Linked DNA regions of Homo sapiens: region 2 is linked to region 1. The links are contacts of gene promoters, found by promoter capture Hi-C in human tissues and cell types (Jung and others, 2019). All regions are on one chromosome and are shown on one strand. Each heading gives the region's core, a stretch centred on a gene start or on the middle of the fragment in contact. The rest is flanking DNA. Distances are from core to core; before and after follow the strand shown. Region 1 holds the start of OXR1 (oxidation resistance 1). Region 2 has its middle 180 kb from the start of LRP12.

Region 1 (7,115 bases), core at 1,521-4,020:
GCAACAAAGAGGGGACTCTCTGTTACCCTTAGGCAGGCAAATCAAAGCAACTGAGCCTAAAAAGAGATGGGAAAAGTTCACTTCAAAGCATTATTATTATCTTGCTCATTTCTGAATAACTGAAACCAACGGACCTCCCAACACACTTGCTGTCCTTTTTTTGTCCATGGGGAAACAGGCCAGTCTATGAGTTTACTGGTTATCCATTATTTCCATCTTGCAAACATCCCCTATTCCTTCTTTTGCTAACCAAATACTTTTTTCCCTTTTGAGAATCTTTCATCCCCAAGAGGATGCAGGTGGTTGATTGTGTGAGCCAGGACAGCCAATAAGAGTACACCTTCAAAGATTGATCTGCTCAACAGAACAAGAGACTTGATTTCTTTGTAAGGTTACAAAATTTGTCAACTGTGTAGGGCTGGCACTATGGACATAATGTGAGGGGAATGAAACCAACACAGGAAGCAATGCCGAAAGCAAGTTAGAGAAAGAGAAAATCATATTCTTCCTAATGTTGTTAAGCCCAGGACAAGCCCTGCTATTTCTAGTACTTCTGAGTTACACGGGTCAATGCATTTTCTCTGCCTAAGTTAGAATTGCATCCCTGTCACTTGTTACTTCGAGTCCTCAATGCAGTACGTTTTTGAGCTACACTTTTCCATAGGACACCAAAGAGACTTTGAAATCAAGATTTTCCCTGTTTCATGATTATGGGTAGTGTGCATGCTGTAGCATGAAGATGTTCAGAGTGCCATACCACCTTAAGAATAATTACTGAAAGAGGAAGAATGAAAGCAACCAGGATGAAAGTAAAGTTTATTTTTCACCTTCCTTCACCACTGATAGAAAGGAATGATTTGTGTTGATAGTCTAAGGAAATTCACATTTTGATCTCCCAATGAATCACCTATGGAAAATTAGAAACATGATGTTGTCATTATAAAGTGGCCCTGGTCCTGCAGATAATATTTGCAGCTTCAGTAAAAAAGTAAAAGATCAAACCTTAATTGATTACTTATTTTGGGGTGCACATGGCACTAAATTGCAAGTGGGGATGGAAGGGCGCAAATATCTTAGGAGGGAGGACATCTTGACCCAAATAGACAGATTCCACTACAGTTCTATGAAAAAATCACATGTACATTACTTAGTAGGGTTAGCAAAGTCTAACTAATTTATAATACTGGGAAAACAAAGTAGCTTTATCACAGAGTCTGAACTGAGATAATTATAAAATACATACCTAGTCTATACATTGCTTGTAGAAGATTCTCAGTAAAATCTTTCTGATAGAATAAAAATTAAACGCTATCAGTTTCAACATAACAGAAAATTTAAGCTGCGAATGCTCGTAAAGAAATTAGGTAAAAATAATGGAGAACAAAACCCGCAATCGGCTTATCAATCGGCTTACTGTTGACACGCCACGCCACTCAGAATAGTATCTAATTTTCTTGATCCCTTATCTCAGGTAAAGCTATTGACTCGGGGAAATAGGTTATGCGGAAACCATGAAAGTTTCTAGTCTGGCCGACCCTAGGTTCAACACTCTATTATTCCAGACAAGCGATGAGCTCCTGTCGCTAAATTTCAACATCCCTGTCTGTCAAATGGGAATAATAATGATTCTCTCATTGGGTGGCTGTGAGAGGTGAGTGAAACAAGACGGAAATTTGACCCAGGAAATATCTGTACCTCTTACTTTAAAGAACAGAATTAAAAAATAATAATAAATGATCAGAAATTAAGGTAGAATAGAGTGAACACTAATAGCGGGAAATAGCTAATTTGCAGGTGAGGTGGCTGAAAGGCTCCTACGCTTGAAGTGTTTGCTGGATGCACAGGAGATCTGGGATACATCCCGAACTCGGCAACAGGACCAGCTCCTTTCCTCAGGGTTACAGAACAGCCAGGTTCCAGTTCAGGTCTGGGAATCTACCCATCCAGAGTTTGCGCCCTTTTCGTTTTGCAATTTAAAACCGGGTTGGAGGGGGAAGGAGTGAAGGCAGCATGCGGAGAAAGTAAATTACAGTTCAGGTGACAGGAACAAGAAAATCTCCAAGGTCAGGGTGGGGTGTCAACGAATTATGCAAAACACTGCGGAATGAGGAGTCACAAACGCCTTGCAAAGAATTCTGAATTTTAGAAGCTCTTTGCAGAACCCCCTTCAGCCCGCTCCAAGCTGCCTTGGGTCCCTTTCTAGGCTGTCAGACTTCGCCTTCCTTTCCTCCTTGTTTTTCCCAGCAACCAAAGCATCTGAAGAACATTTTTTTCCTCCGTAAATCTGAACAAATTTCCTTGCAGCTTTCCTTGCAGAAGCTTTTTTATCGCTTTAACAAAACTTTCCTCTGCTTCTCTAGGGAGAGCCTAGTATTAGAGCTGCCCGACAGGCGGGACCCCGAAATCGGGGCAGCTCTGGCTTAGTCCAGGCTATTCGAGTGGGCGCCTGAACTGGAGGCGCCGTCTCCACCGGGATGGGGATCCTAGTGCAGGCAGACGCCTGGCAGGACTCGGCGAGCTGGGGTCCCCACCGCGGTAGCCAGAGCAGAAACCCGAACCCCAGCCAGAGGGGCCGCGCGCGGGGAGGGGTGCGCGCTAAGCCAGCGTGGCTTCCGCAGGAGCTATTTTTAGCGGTGCGTGCCTCCCCCCGCCCCCGGCGTGGTAGCCTCCGGCTCGCGGCGCCCCACGGCTCCTCTCAGTCTCCCCCGCCGCTGCCGGCTCTTGGTAGCTTCCACGCGGGCAGGTCCGGAAACTGAGCATGTCTGCAAGCGCTCAGCGGCGCCGGCAGCAGCGGGGCTAGAGCTGGGCTGCGTCAGGCTGAGCCCATTCACCTCGCGGCCACAGGAGCTCAGCGCCGGCGCCGCGCCGCCCAGCCCCGCCGAGAGGGGCGCACTCGCCGCCGCGGGGCCCGCCGCCGCTCACCGCAGCCCCCTCCTGGCGACCCGCAAGTAAGTTTGTGAGGCTGCTGGGCGTTAGGGCGAGGGCTTGGCGCCCGGGGGAGTCCAGGAGGGATAGCGAGAGGCGCGGCTGGCGCCCGGGAGAGCCGGCTGGCCTCTGCCCCCTGTGCCTGGCGCCTCTCCGAGCCACTTAGCCAATTTGAAAGCGGGTGGCCATTGGGATGCTCGAGCGGGGACGACGGGCAGAGCAGGAGGGCAGAACTAGCTCCAGCGGGGGCCCAGAGGGCGGACTTGGGAAGAAGGAAAGACCGCGCGGCGAGGGAGGAGACCGGGCGGCGAGGGAGGAGACCGGGCGGGGAGGCTGGGTTTGGGGCGCGGGAGCCCGGCCAGGGACAGCCGCAGAAGGAAAGTGGGGGTGTCGCCGGGGGATAGAGTGGGAGCAGCGTGAGAGCAGTGTTGGGGGCGCAGAGTGGAGGGCAAGCGTGTCTTGAACAGAACGGCAGGAGGATGGGTGGAAAGTGGGGCGCGTGGAAAGCGGATTTGGACGAGAGCAAAGGACGCCGGTGGAAGGGACAGTGGGCTCCGGAGGGGCGAGTGGATTCGGATAATTTGGGGAATCAGTAAAAGGCTAGGGGGCACATCATGATGGAGTCAGCCTGGAATCTGTCTCCCGCTAGAGTACCCGAGGCCACATGTTGGGAACTGGCTGGGGAAAGGATGGATGTAGAAAGTGGCCTGGAGGGCCGACTGGAAAATCGCTGAGGGATTTGGGTGAAGAGGGGGGGAGCTGTGCAGTATCGGGCGGAGGAACTGGGCTGCTGGTAGGGCCTGAAAGGTTCAGGAGAGGGTTGGAGGCTTCCCCGTGCCGCCCCTTGAATAGTGATTTAGTACTGTTATCTGAGGTTCACTTTCACCCCTGGCTCCTCCTCCGTCTACTACCCGGCTTGGACGCACCTCGGCTCGCTGTAGGCGAGCTTTAGGAGATTTAAATAGACATTAGGCAGTGGGGAAGGTAGTCGTTTACGGGGGGAGCTGCTCGGGCTTCCGTTCAGTGGTTCCCGGCACGCTCAGGGTGCAGTGTAGGGTCTGAATGTGTGTATTGCGGGGGTAGGGGGAGTGGTGTCAGTTCTAGGCCACAGGAATTCGTGGTCTGGCCCCAGAGGTGCGGTGTTTTTGGCCGGGAAGTCAGGCAGAAGTCTGCAGCGTGCAACTCGCAGCGGGGCGTGTGTGTGCGTGTGTGCGCGCGCGTGTGCATGTTTCCGGCCCGGGGTCGCGTGTGTGGCTGCAGCCTGTCTCCGTGACAAGAAGATCCAGGGATCTACGGGCGGCACGGGGAAGGGATTAAGGGGAACATACTTCCCTACGTCTTTTCTGCCTCCTTTTCCCAGGGTAGCATTCTTTGCTTATCCAATGATGCCTCTTTCTAACCTCTCCCTCTCCACTTACATCCCAAACCTGATGCGGGTCTTCTCTGATTCGGCACTCTAAGGAGGACTCAGCCGCCGGCTGCGACCACCGTGGACTCCCTCTATGGAAGGGAATCCTGGGAGTCCCGGCCGTCAGAGGGGTTCCCAAATCCAAAGGGTCCATCTCCAAGGCGTCACTCCAGGGGTCCGCGGTTCACTTTGCTGCCCCTTGCAGGTGATGCTGTGATTGTTGCCTGCGGACTGGGAAGCACGATGGCTCCAAAAGGCCAGCGGGGCCGAGAAGCAGGGACAGAGACCAGCATTTAAGGGATCTCTGGTGGGGGCCTCCCTGGAGTTCTCCACATGTAAATATAGCGAAAAAAGAAAACACTACGTTACTAGAATAAACACGTCCTAAAATTTCTGTGCAAAAACACCTTTTTGAACAGCAAAGATTTCACCCACCAAAACAAGGAAGCAAGAAGCTTCCACAGTGTGCAGGATCCGAAACAGGACCGGCCCGGCGTTGGGTGAGAGTGGGGGAGGGGTTGTCGGCTTCTCCATCCAGCTTGCCATGTTCTGTCGTCGGTTTCACATTTTCAGAGAGACTTTACCAGATGCAGGAAATGAGGATGAAGGCAACTCTGGAAGGATGCAAAGAAGGGAGAGCAAGCACTGTACCTACTGTCTGCTGTCTAAGAGGGCTGGTCTCATAACTAAAAGGTCCAGTCCCTGAGATCTTGTGTGCAACCGTCAGAAATAGTTCAGGACATCAAATTGCACAGAGAAGATTCAGATGAAGGGAAACAAGAACTCTGTGGAAAACTGTTGGGGACAGTGGCACGAGTTGTCTTGCAAGGTGATGTCTGTCCCGTGGAGGGACACAAGAGCGAGGACAGCATGGTTCTAATGGCCAGGGCATGTCTTCTTATTCCATGTGACAGTGGCTGGCTGAGTTGCTAGTACGTTTTTGAAATATACCCTTTGAAATATGTTGATTATTCTGGACATCTGTAAGGTGGGAGATTTGAATAAAAAGACTTCTGCTGTCATTATTGGCTTTTATGGCTATGATTTTTTTCAGTCATTATTATAAATCATGTGAAGGTAAAATAAATGATCATTTTAGCCATTCTGTTCTGCACAGAATGCTGTTCAAATAAAACATCATCTGATATGTTTGCCTGTATTGTTTTGTTTGGGGGTCACGGAAGAGGGAAAGTCGGCCAAATTGATTAGGGTATCATATAAAAGCAGAGATTAGGTCCGGGTAGATCTTTTGAGTGTGTGCAGGAAAAGGCTTCATTATAGAATGCTAAATTTAATGTGAGATGAGAGAATCTTTTACTCCCGATCTCCTGCATTTGAAATACAAAGGATTGTACCCTTGGGCTGGTTCCTGGTCCTTAAGTGGAAGCCTAACTGGACACTTTTTTTCTGGAGGATTGTTCCCTAAATCCTGGGAAGCTTTAGAAAATAGTCAATGGAATTTTTGTTGCCCTAAGATAAAGTCATTACAAAGAAAAAAAAAAAAGAAGAAGAAGAAGAAAGTAAAGGTGGTGAAATGGCTTGAGGAGGCAGAATGAGAAATAGAGATGTCAGTCAAAGTGGAAGAAGAGAAATCACTTTCTCTCACTTTAGGGATAGATCTTGTTGATAGGCTTAGAGCAGTGATTCTCCACTGGGGGCAGTTTTACCCCCTAGGGGATACTGACAATGTCTGGAGACATTTTTGGTTGTCACAACTTTGGGGGAGAGGTGCTGCTGGTGTCTTGTGGGCCAGGCCAGGGATGCTGTGAACATTCTACAATAAACTGGACAGCCTTCTGCAATTATCCAGCCCAAATGTCAGTAATGCTTAATTTGAGAAACTTGGCTTTCAATAAGATGTGCTTAACATTAAAAGCAACCCCTTTTAGGATACTTTCAAATATTCCTATTGGAAGTCCATCTTGAAAATCAAGAGTAGTTAATAAGAGACTTTCTTTGCAAAATGGTCCATATTCAAAAACACTTGTTTTAAGGAAATTAAAGAGGCTTCCTTTTGGCAGAACTGTTTTTCAGCCTTTAAAAAACAAACAAACAAAAAATCTTAAGACATATTGAGAATTTCTAAAAGGTGAATCATATGCATATGTGCATGTGAGCTAAGTAAACATTGTTTGATAAAACCAAATCAGAACTATTCTGCTGTACTAATTTCACTGAACTTGTTTGGTAATTGCTTTTTAAAAGCGATAATCTTAATTTTTAATTCAAATGAATTTAATTAAAATTACAACTTGTAAGTTCTTTATCAAGTGAGGGATTGAACAATCAGAGAAAAATGTTAGACAAATATTTATTTGAAACACCCCAAAATATTCCAAAATGAAATCTTAGTATTTATAGGTATCTACATAGAAAGGTAAGAATGTCGTATAATTTTCTCGTATTGTATTTAATTTCCATTTGAAATCGACAGCATGGAGCGTATTGAGAAGCATCAAGCCTTTCGATTCCGTAGCACAATACGTTGCCTAGAAAGGAGGAACAATACCTTACACTCATAAATGTAATAAGATACTGTTCTAATATCCCCTGCATGCAGGAGCTCAGAGCACTTATTAGGTAAAAGCCTTGTCATTAGCACAATGAAGCCTAGTGAAACTAAAATTTGGTCGTTGTATCTACCCCCTCTTCTGTCTCACCATTCCACCCATTTTTGTTATTGGTTTGTTTCAGAATTCATTCTGAAGGTATCATCATTAGGGTTGCTTACTTCCTTTCTTGTTCTAATAACTATTCCAATCACCCTTACCTATTACTGTCC
Region 2 (7,115 bases), core at 2,008-4,507, 1.5 Mb before region 1:
AGATCCTGTGGGAGAATCACAGGGTCAGATCATTCAATCAGAAGTAGACATTTGCTCTGAAGGATCTACTTCTCTTTTGGGTCTGCGCCCTCCACGTGTCAGGGGCAGCACATCCCCTTCATTTTATTTATTTATTCCAGGCCTAGAAGACTTGGCATTCTGTCATTCACTGTGAAATTTTGGGATAACATTCTTAGTTTTCCTGTTTCTAGACTAGTTCTCAAGCTTCCTGGATGACTTCTCAGGGCTCTATAAGGGCAGGCAGGATCAGAGGTTAGCTTCGCACTCTACCCTCCCACCCCCCAGTGCTTCTCTGAGGGCGCTGGTGATGTTCTGGAGACTACATTCAATTGTGTTTTCTCAAACTCATCTGCCGTGACATTTGTTACAGGAAAGGGGTCTGGATCCAGATCCCAAGGGAGGGTTCTTGGATCTCGCACAAGGAAGAATTCAGGGCGAGCCCATGGAGTAAAGTGAAAACAAGCTTATTAAGAAAGTAAAGGCATGAAAGAATGGCTACTGCATAGGCAGAGCAGCCTTGAGGGCTGCTGGTTGCCCATTTTTATGTTGTTTTTTTTTTTTTTAAATTATATACTAAAGAGGTGAATCCCCTTTTTAGACCGTATAGGATAACTTCCTGATGTTGCCATGGCATTTATAAACTGTCATGGCGCTAGTGGGAGTGTAGCAGTGAGGAAGGCCAGAGGTCACTCTAGTGGCCATCTTGGTTTTGGTGGGTTTTGGCCAGCTTCTTTACTGCAAACTGTTTTATCAGCAAGGTCTTTATGACCTGTATTTTGTGCTGACCTCCTATCTCATCCTGTGACTTAGAATGCCTTAACCATCTGGGAATGCAGCCCAGTAGGTCTCAGCCTTATATTACCCAGCTCCTATTCAAGATGGAGTTGCTCTGGTTGAAACACCTCTGACACTGTCAGCATTGGGATGTAGGGGACTACTTCCTCCAACTAAACACAAAACCTTACTGGGACTTTTGTGAGAATACACATTAGTTTTCTTCTAGTTTCTGCTGTCACCATTGCTGAATTTTCGATGTGGGTGACCTCCCTCTTTACTATTTATCTTTGGGCAAACAAATCCTGCCTTATTTTCAGTGACTACTAATATAATATAGATGCTAAATGTAGGCCTTCATAGATAATGCCCTCAGCCCTAACCCTGTCTGATCTCCAATGCCATGATCCATCAGCATAGAAGACATTCCACTTGGATATCTTCCCATCACTCAACCCCAAACAAGTCCTAAATATAAGTCACGGGCATCGTCTTTCCCAAACCCCCTCATCTCACGACTTGTCCATTTCTGCCAGTGTTACCACCTTCCATCCTCCCAGTCATTCAGGCTCAAAACCTTGGTATCATCTTTCCCTCTTCCTTCTTACTGGTACCTTATATCCACCCAGTTGCCAGGACTTATTGGTTGAATTATTACCAGTCATTGAAATTTGATAGAATTAGCAGCAATATTTTACTTTGTACTAATCTCTGTGCCTTTCCTTCTTTCCGCCCATACTCTGCCCCCATCACCTGTCAGTCTAAGGCCAGGAACATTGCCTGAAGGCGAGTAGGGATTTCAGTGCAGGAATGTAAAGATAAGAGTTAGCTTTCTTTTTGACTTCCAAATTATGCTCTTGAGAATCAAAAGGGAGAGTGCCAGCGCAGGCAGGGCTTAGTGTTTATGCAGCAATGAAGCTTAGAAAGAGAATTAAAGGAGAGAGTTAAAGTGTAAAGGCCACCTGGAGAATGACCCGGGGGCTATTTTGAGGAAGGGCATGAAAGGCTTGGAAGATGGAAAATGCCAAGGAACCACTGGGAGCTGACCCATTCCCTACCATGCATCCTACCAGCCAGCAGAGACCCTCATAGCTCAGGGAGGAGGGTGGTCCATCCAGCACTTCATCTCATCTGTGAATTGTCCCATGGGGTTCCTATTCTGACTGCCCTGCTCGTTAGTCCTTCCAGAAAGGGAGGAGGTGGGATGTTCTTAACCTAGCAAGTAGTTAAGATTCTTAACCTTAACAAATGGAAGAAAGAGCCCCAACATCTGGACTTGGGCGGGACTCTTTTTACTAACACCTCTGCAGCTGGTAATTGTCAGATCATCATCAAGGAGGGCTGATAGGCTGGAAAAAAAATGCTGCACACATACAATCTGATCTTGACAAAATCAACAAAACAAGCAACGGGGAAAGGACTGCCTATTCAATAAATGGTGCTAGGATAACTCATTAGCCATATGCAGAAGATAGAAACTGGACCCCTTCCTTATACCATATGCAAAAATCAACTTAAGGTGGATTAAAGACTTGAATGTAAAATCTGAAACGATGACAATCCTGGAAGACAACCTAGGAAATACTATTTTGGACATAGAACTTGGCAGAGATTTCATGATGAAGACACCAAAAGCTATTGTAACAAAAACAAAAATTGACAAATAGGACCGAATTAAACTAAAGAGCATCTGCACAGCCAAAGAAACTATCAATAGAGTAAACAGACAACCCACAGAATGGGAGAAAATACTTGCAAACTATGCATTTGACAAAGGTCTAATATCAAGAATCTATAAGGAGCTTAAATATATAAGCAAAAAAAAAAAAACCATTAAAAACTGGGCAAAAGACATCAACAAACACTTTGCAAAAGAAGATATACATGTGGCCAACAATCATGAAAAATAGCTCAGCATCGGCCGGGCGCGGTGGCTCACACCTATAATCCCAGCACTTTGGGAGGCCTAGGCGGGCGGATCACGTGGTCAGGAGATCAAGACCATCTTGGCTAACATGGTGAAACCCTGTCTACTAAAAATACAAAAAATTAGCCAGGCACGCTGGCAGGCGCCTGTAATCCCAGCTACTCAGGAGGCTGAGGCAGGAGAATGGCGTGAACCCGGGAGGCGGAGCTTGCAGTGAGCCGAGATAGCGCCACTGCACTCCGGGGCCTGGGCGAAAGAGCGAGACTCCGTCTCAAAAAAAAAAAAAAAAAAAAAAATAGCTCAGCATCACTGATCATTAGAGAAATGCAAATCAAAACCACGAAGAGATACCATCTCATACCAGCGAGAGTCGCTATTACTAAAAAGTTAAAAAATAACAGATCCTGGTGAGGTTATAGAGAAAAGGGAACACATACACTGCTGGTGGGAGTGTAAATTAGTTCAGCCATTGTGGAAAGCAGTTTGGTAATTTCTCAAAGAACTTAAAGCCAAATTACCATTTGACCCAGCAGTCCCATTATTGGGTATATACCCAAAGAAATATAAATCATTCTGCCATAAAGACACATGCACCCTGTATATTCATTGCAGCACTATTCACAATAGCAAAGACATGGAATCAACCTAAGTGCCCATCAATGGTAGACTGGATGAAGAAAATGTGGTACAAGTGCATCATAAAATACTAAGCAAACATCAAAAAAGGAATGAGTTCATGCCCTTTGGAACAACATGGATGGCACTGGTGGCCATTATCCTAAACAAAATAACACAGGAACAGAAAACCAAATATTGAATGTCCTCTCTTATAAGTGGGAGCTAAATATTGAGTACATATGGACAAAAAGAAGGGAATAACAGACATCAGGGTCTACTGGAGGGTAGAGGGTGAAAGGAGGGTAAGGATTGAAAAACTACCTATCGGGTACAATGTTTCTTAACCTGGGCGATAAAATGATCTGTACACCAAATCCCTGTGACATGCAATTTACCCATGTAGCAAATCTGCACGTGTATCCTTGGACCTAAGATAAAAGTTAAATAAATAAATAAATAAATTGAAATATATATATATATGTATATATATATTTTTTAAGGAAGGCTGATGGGAAAGTGAAATCTAACTCCTTTCTTTTTCTCAGAGGTTTGCATTTTCTGGAGGAGATTTGGTGATATTAGTCTTCCCCTGAGCAGTCCAAAGGTCTGGCTTCCTAAAATATAGTGGAAAAAAAAGATAGGATGTAAAAAACTATTAAGCAGTTAATTTTATTCAGGCTTTATTCAACATTAGAGAAAATGTTCATTAATCAGAACCATCTCAAAGAAAGAGAAAACCTTTTCTACTGAGGTAAATAAACAAGGAGTCCCAAGGAAAGGTGGACAGAAAGTGAGTCTTCGTAAATATAAAGTGTGTGTGTGTGTGTGTGTGTGTGTGTGTGTGTGTGTGTGTGTCTCGTTATGTTGCCCAGGCTAGTCTCGAACTCTTGGGCTCAAGCAATCCTCCTGCCTTGGCCTCCCTAAGTGCTGGGACAGGCGTGAGCCACTGTGCCCTGCCTAGCAAGCAAATCTTATCTGAGTCATGAGAAACATATGGAAGGGCAAGATGGTGCTTTGTGATGTGCCCTTTTTTGGGACACAATAGGGTTCAGGGGGATCTTTTAACTGTAGCTGCTTTCAGGGAACACAGGGCTCAGATAAAGTTCAGTGTAGTCAAGGGAAAACTGTCAAGCAAATACAAGCATGCTGATATTTCCCACTTTTGCAGTTAAAGGCTTCTTTTCCTATCTTGTTCCCTGCTAGTTGTCAACTAATTCTTAATGAAGTGCGAAAACCCCGAGGTTCGATCTGCATAAAAATGTTTTATGTGAGGTTATGTTTGGACTATGTTATGACTTTTAAATTAAAAGGAGGCCCACTTAGTAATCTGTAAAAGCTAAGCTCTGACAGGTGACAGTTTGCCTGGACTATTACATGAAAATCTTCTGTCTTAAAAGACACATTTTTTCTTTAACATACCCAGGTCTGCTTTGATAGGACTCCTACGATTGTATGTCTCCTCTGGACCCTCTTCTAAGTAGAGGTTCTTCAGCCTCTAGATATTTGGGACTCTTTTTTTTTGATGGGGACTGTCCTGTGCACTGTAGCATGTTTAGCAACATCCCTGGCCTCTACCCTCTAAATGCCAGTAGCATTCCCGCTTCTGACATCTGGTCCCCATCCCACCCCTGCCCCGACCTTTGTACAATGAGAAATGTCTCCAATCATTGCCAAATGTCCTAAATGTCCTTGGGGGAGGAGGAACCATCCTCAATTGATTACCACTGATTTAAGAGTTTATGCATTAGATTCAGAAAATGCTAGGATTCGAGTAGGAATAGAGCATATAAGACATAGCTTGAGATAGAGTTTAATGAAATAATCAGGTTGCTAGCATATCAGCATGAAACACCATTGGAGGCCAAGGAAGTGGATGGAAAAGCCCAGCATAACTAGTACCAAGTGTTAAACATCCAAAGTAAGGTCAAGGGAAAGACTGGTGACTAATTAGGAGCAACTCGAGAGTTTCCAAATGAACAAACCTAAAGAATAAATGTGTTCAGGAGACTCAAAAGTACACTCAAAGGCTATGGGTTATAGCCACTGGATTCTAATTCTATTATTTTTATACTTAATCATTTCATATTGAGATATGAGTTTTTTGGCTTTATTCAATTTGTATTAATTTTGTACAATAAAATGGTATTTTATATTTTAAGGGGCACGTGTTTCACCATGCTGTCTTCTTTTTCATATTCCAAGTTAAGAGAACTAAATTACTTGGTGTAAGACCGGATTGTACAATCTTCTGTTACAAACCTCAAACGGCAGGTGAAATAATACTGAGAAAGTTCTTTGAGGGTCTAATAGGCAGTTTCATTCCTTTCATGGAGAAAGAAAACATGACAAGGTGTTATTGATAACAGCTTAATGCATGCTCCTCTCAGTGACATTTCTGTAACAGTATTTTTTGCTAGTTTTAAGTCTTTTGAGGGCAGGGACCATATCTTGTTTGCTCTTATATCTTTACCACAGTCCTTGGAACACAGTAGATTCTTAATAAATATTCTTTGAATAAGTGGATGAATACACACAAAGTGAGACTCAAAGAAGTTGGTGTTCCATCTAGAGTTTCATGCACAGACAGGCATATCGGGATGGGAAATGGTAGGACAGGGCAAGTAGTTACTATGGCATCCTTGAGAAGTGATCATTATAGAATAGACCTATATAGTAAGGTGGGCCCAACATTTCAACATGATCTGCAACATCCATCATTAGCCCTATGGAGGACATTTATTAACCAGGGCTGTCCATGTTTTTAATGCACTCTCACTTGTGAGCCACAGCGATCTTCCTCCTATCTCCAGCTGTATCAAAAGGACTCCATCCTCATTCTGCAACCGAAAACTCTGAGGCTTACATGCTACATATGTGCATAAATACAGCCACCCATAAATATAGTTTGTTTCCTTAGATCTTGCTTGCACTTGAATTTGCATGTCTTGTTTAAATATTCTTATGAAATGAAGATGTAGAAATATGCATTATAGACCTTCTCTTGTATTGCACAATATGGTTGAGTGCCACAAGATTTGTAGCTTGGGAATGTAATGCACAGATTTATAGAATCTCGGGGAGGTTTGCCAGAATAAAAGACATCCCTCTGCTTTTAAGTATTTATTTTAGAATAAATATAGATTTACTTATAATGAAACAGTAATAGTTTTCATTCTTTTTTTCACTCATCTTTTCTATAAATATGTAGCAATTGCATGCTTATTTTGAATGGAGAATTGTGTTAGGGACTCTGAAAGTCCTAAAAATGAGAAAGCCTGAGTCTCTTTTCTTTAAGAGTCTAATCCAGTTGGAGTGACTTGGAGGAATTAAAGTATACTCCCTTCCTATTAAAAAAAGAAAGATACAAAAGAGTGTAAGAGTTAAGCAAAAATGCAACCAGTGCAGCTTCATAAGCTCCTGACTACATTCTGTGATGACAGTTTGACTTTGAATATTCTTATATGGTGTAATGAAGTGAGAAGTTGAGTAGAGTAAATCCTCATTGCTCATCCTGTTGTTCATCATTTTGTTAATTCATTTTTGAGAATAAATGAATGCTAATGGGTGTTCCTTTAAATGTACTAGCTAAGTGCCATCATGCTCTTATTAATTATGGGTTTATTGAGGAAGGAAAATGGAAGAGAAGTGCTTTTGTCCTCTAAAGGGAAGATTTTAGCTGTGGTTACAGTTAACAAACACATACCATTGGAAACTCCCAGAAGATGGGGGGTGGGGTTGGAGACAGGAAGAGAGGACACACACACACACACACACA

The links. Contacts are between HindIII fragments. The study calls those that stand out against the background at their distance.
Region 2: a contact is called between a fragment that was not itself captured here and the fragment with the promoter of OXR1 in region 1, in 1 of the 25 tissues and cell types used here (lymphoblastoid cells).

What each region holds. Positions count from the first base shown.
Region 1 is chr8:106,267,420-106,274,534 of GRCh38, forward strand. OXR1 (oxidation resistance 1) reads left to right here and starts at 2,771. Exons shown (of 17, transcript NM_001198533.2): 1 at 2,771-2,948. RefSeq lists silencers at 2,496-2,745, 2,766-3,125. The HindIII fragment of the contact is 5,628 bases long and covers 1-5,279 here.
Region 2 is chr8:104,762,854-104,769,968 of GRCh38, forward strand. No RefSeq gene overlaps it. Among named protein-coding and RNA genes, the nearest start is that of LRP12, 180 kb to the left of the region's middle. The HindIII fragment of the contact is 4,319 bases long and covers 1,099-5,417 here.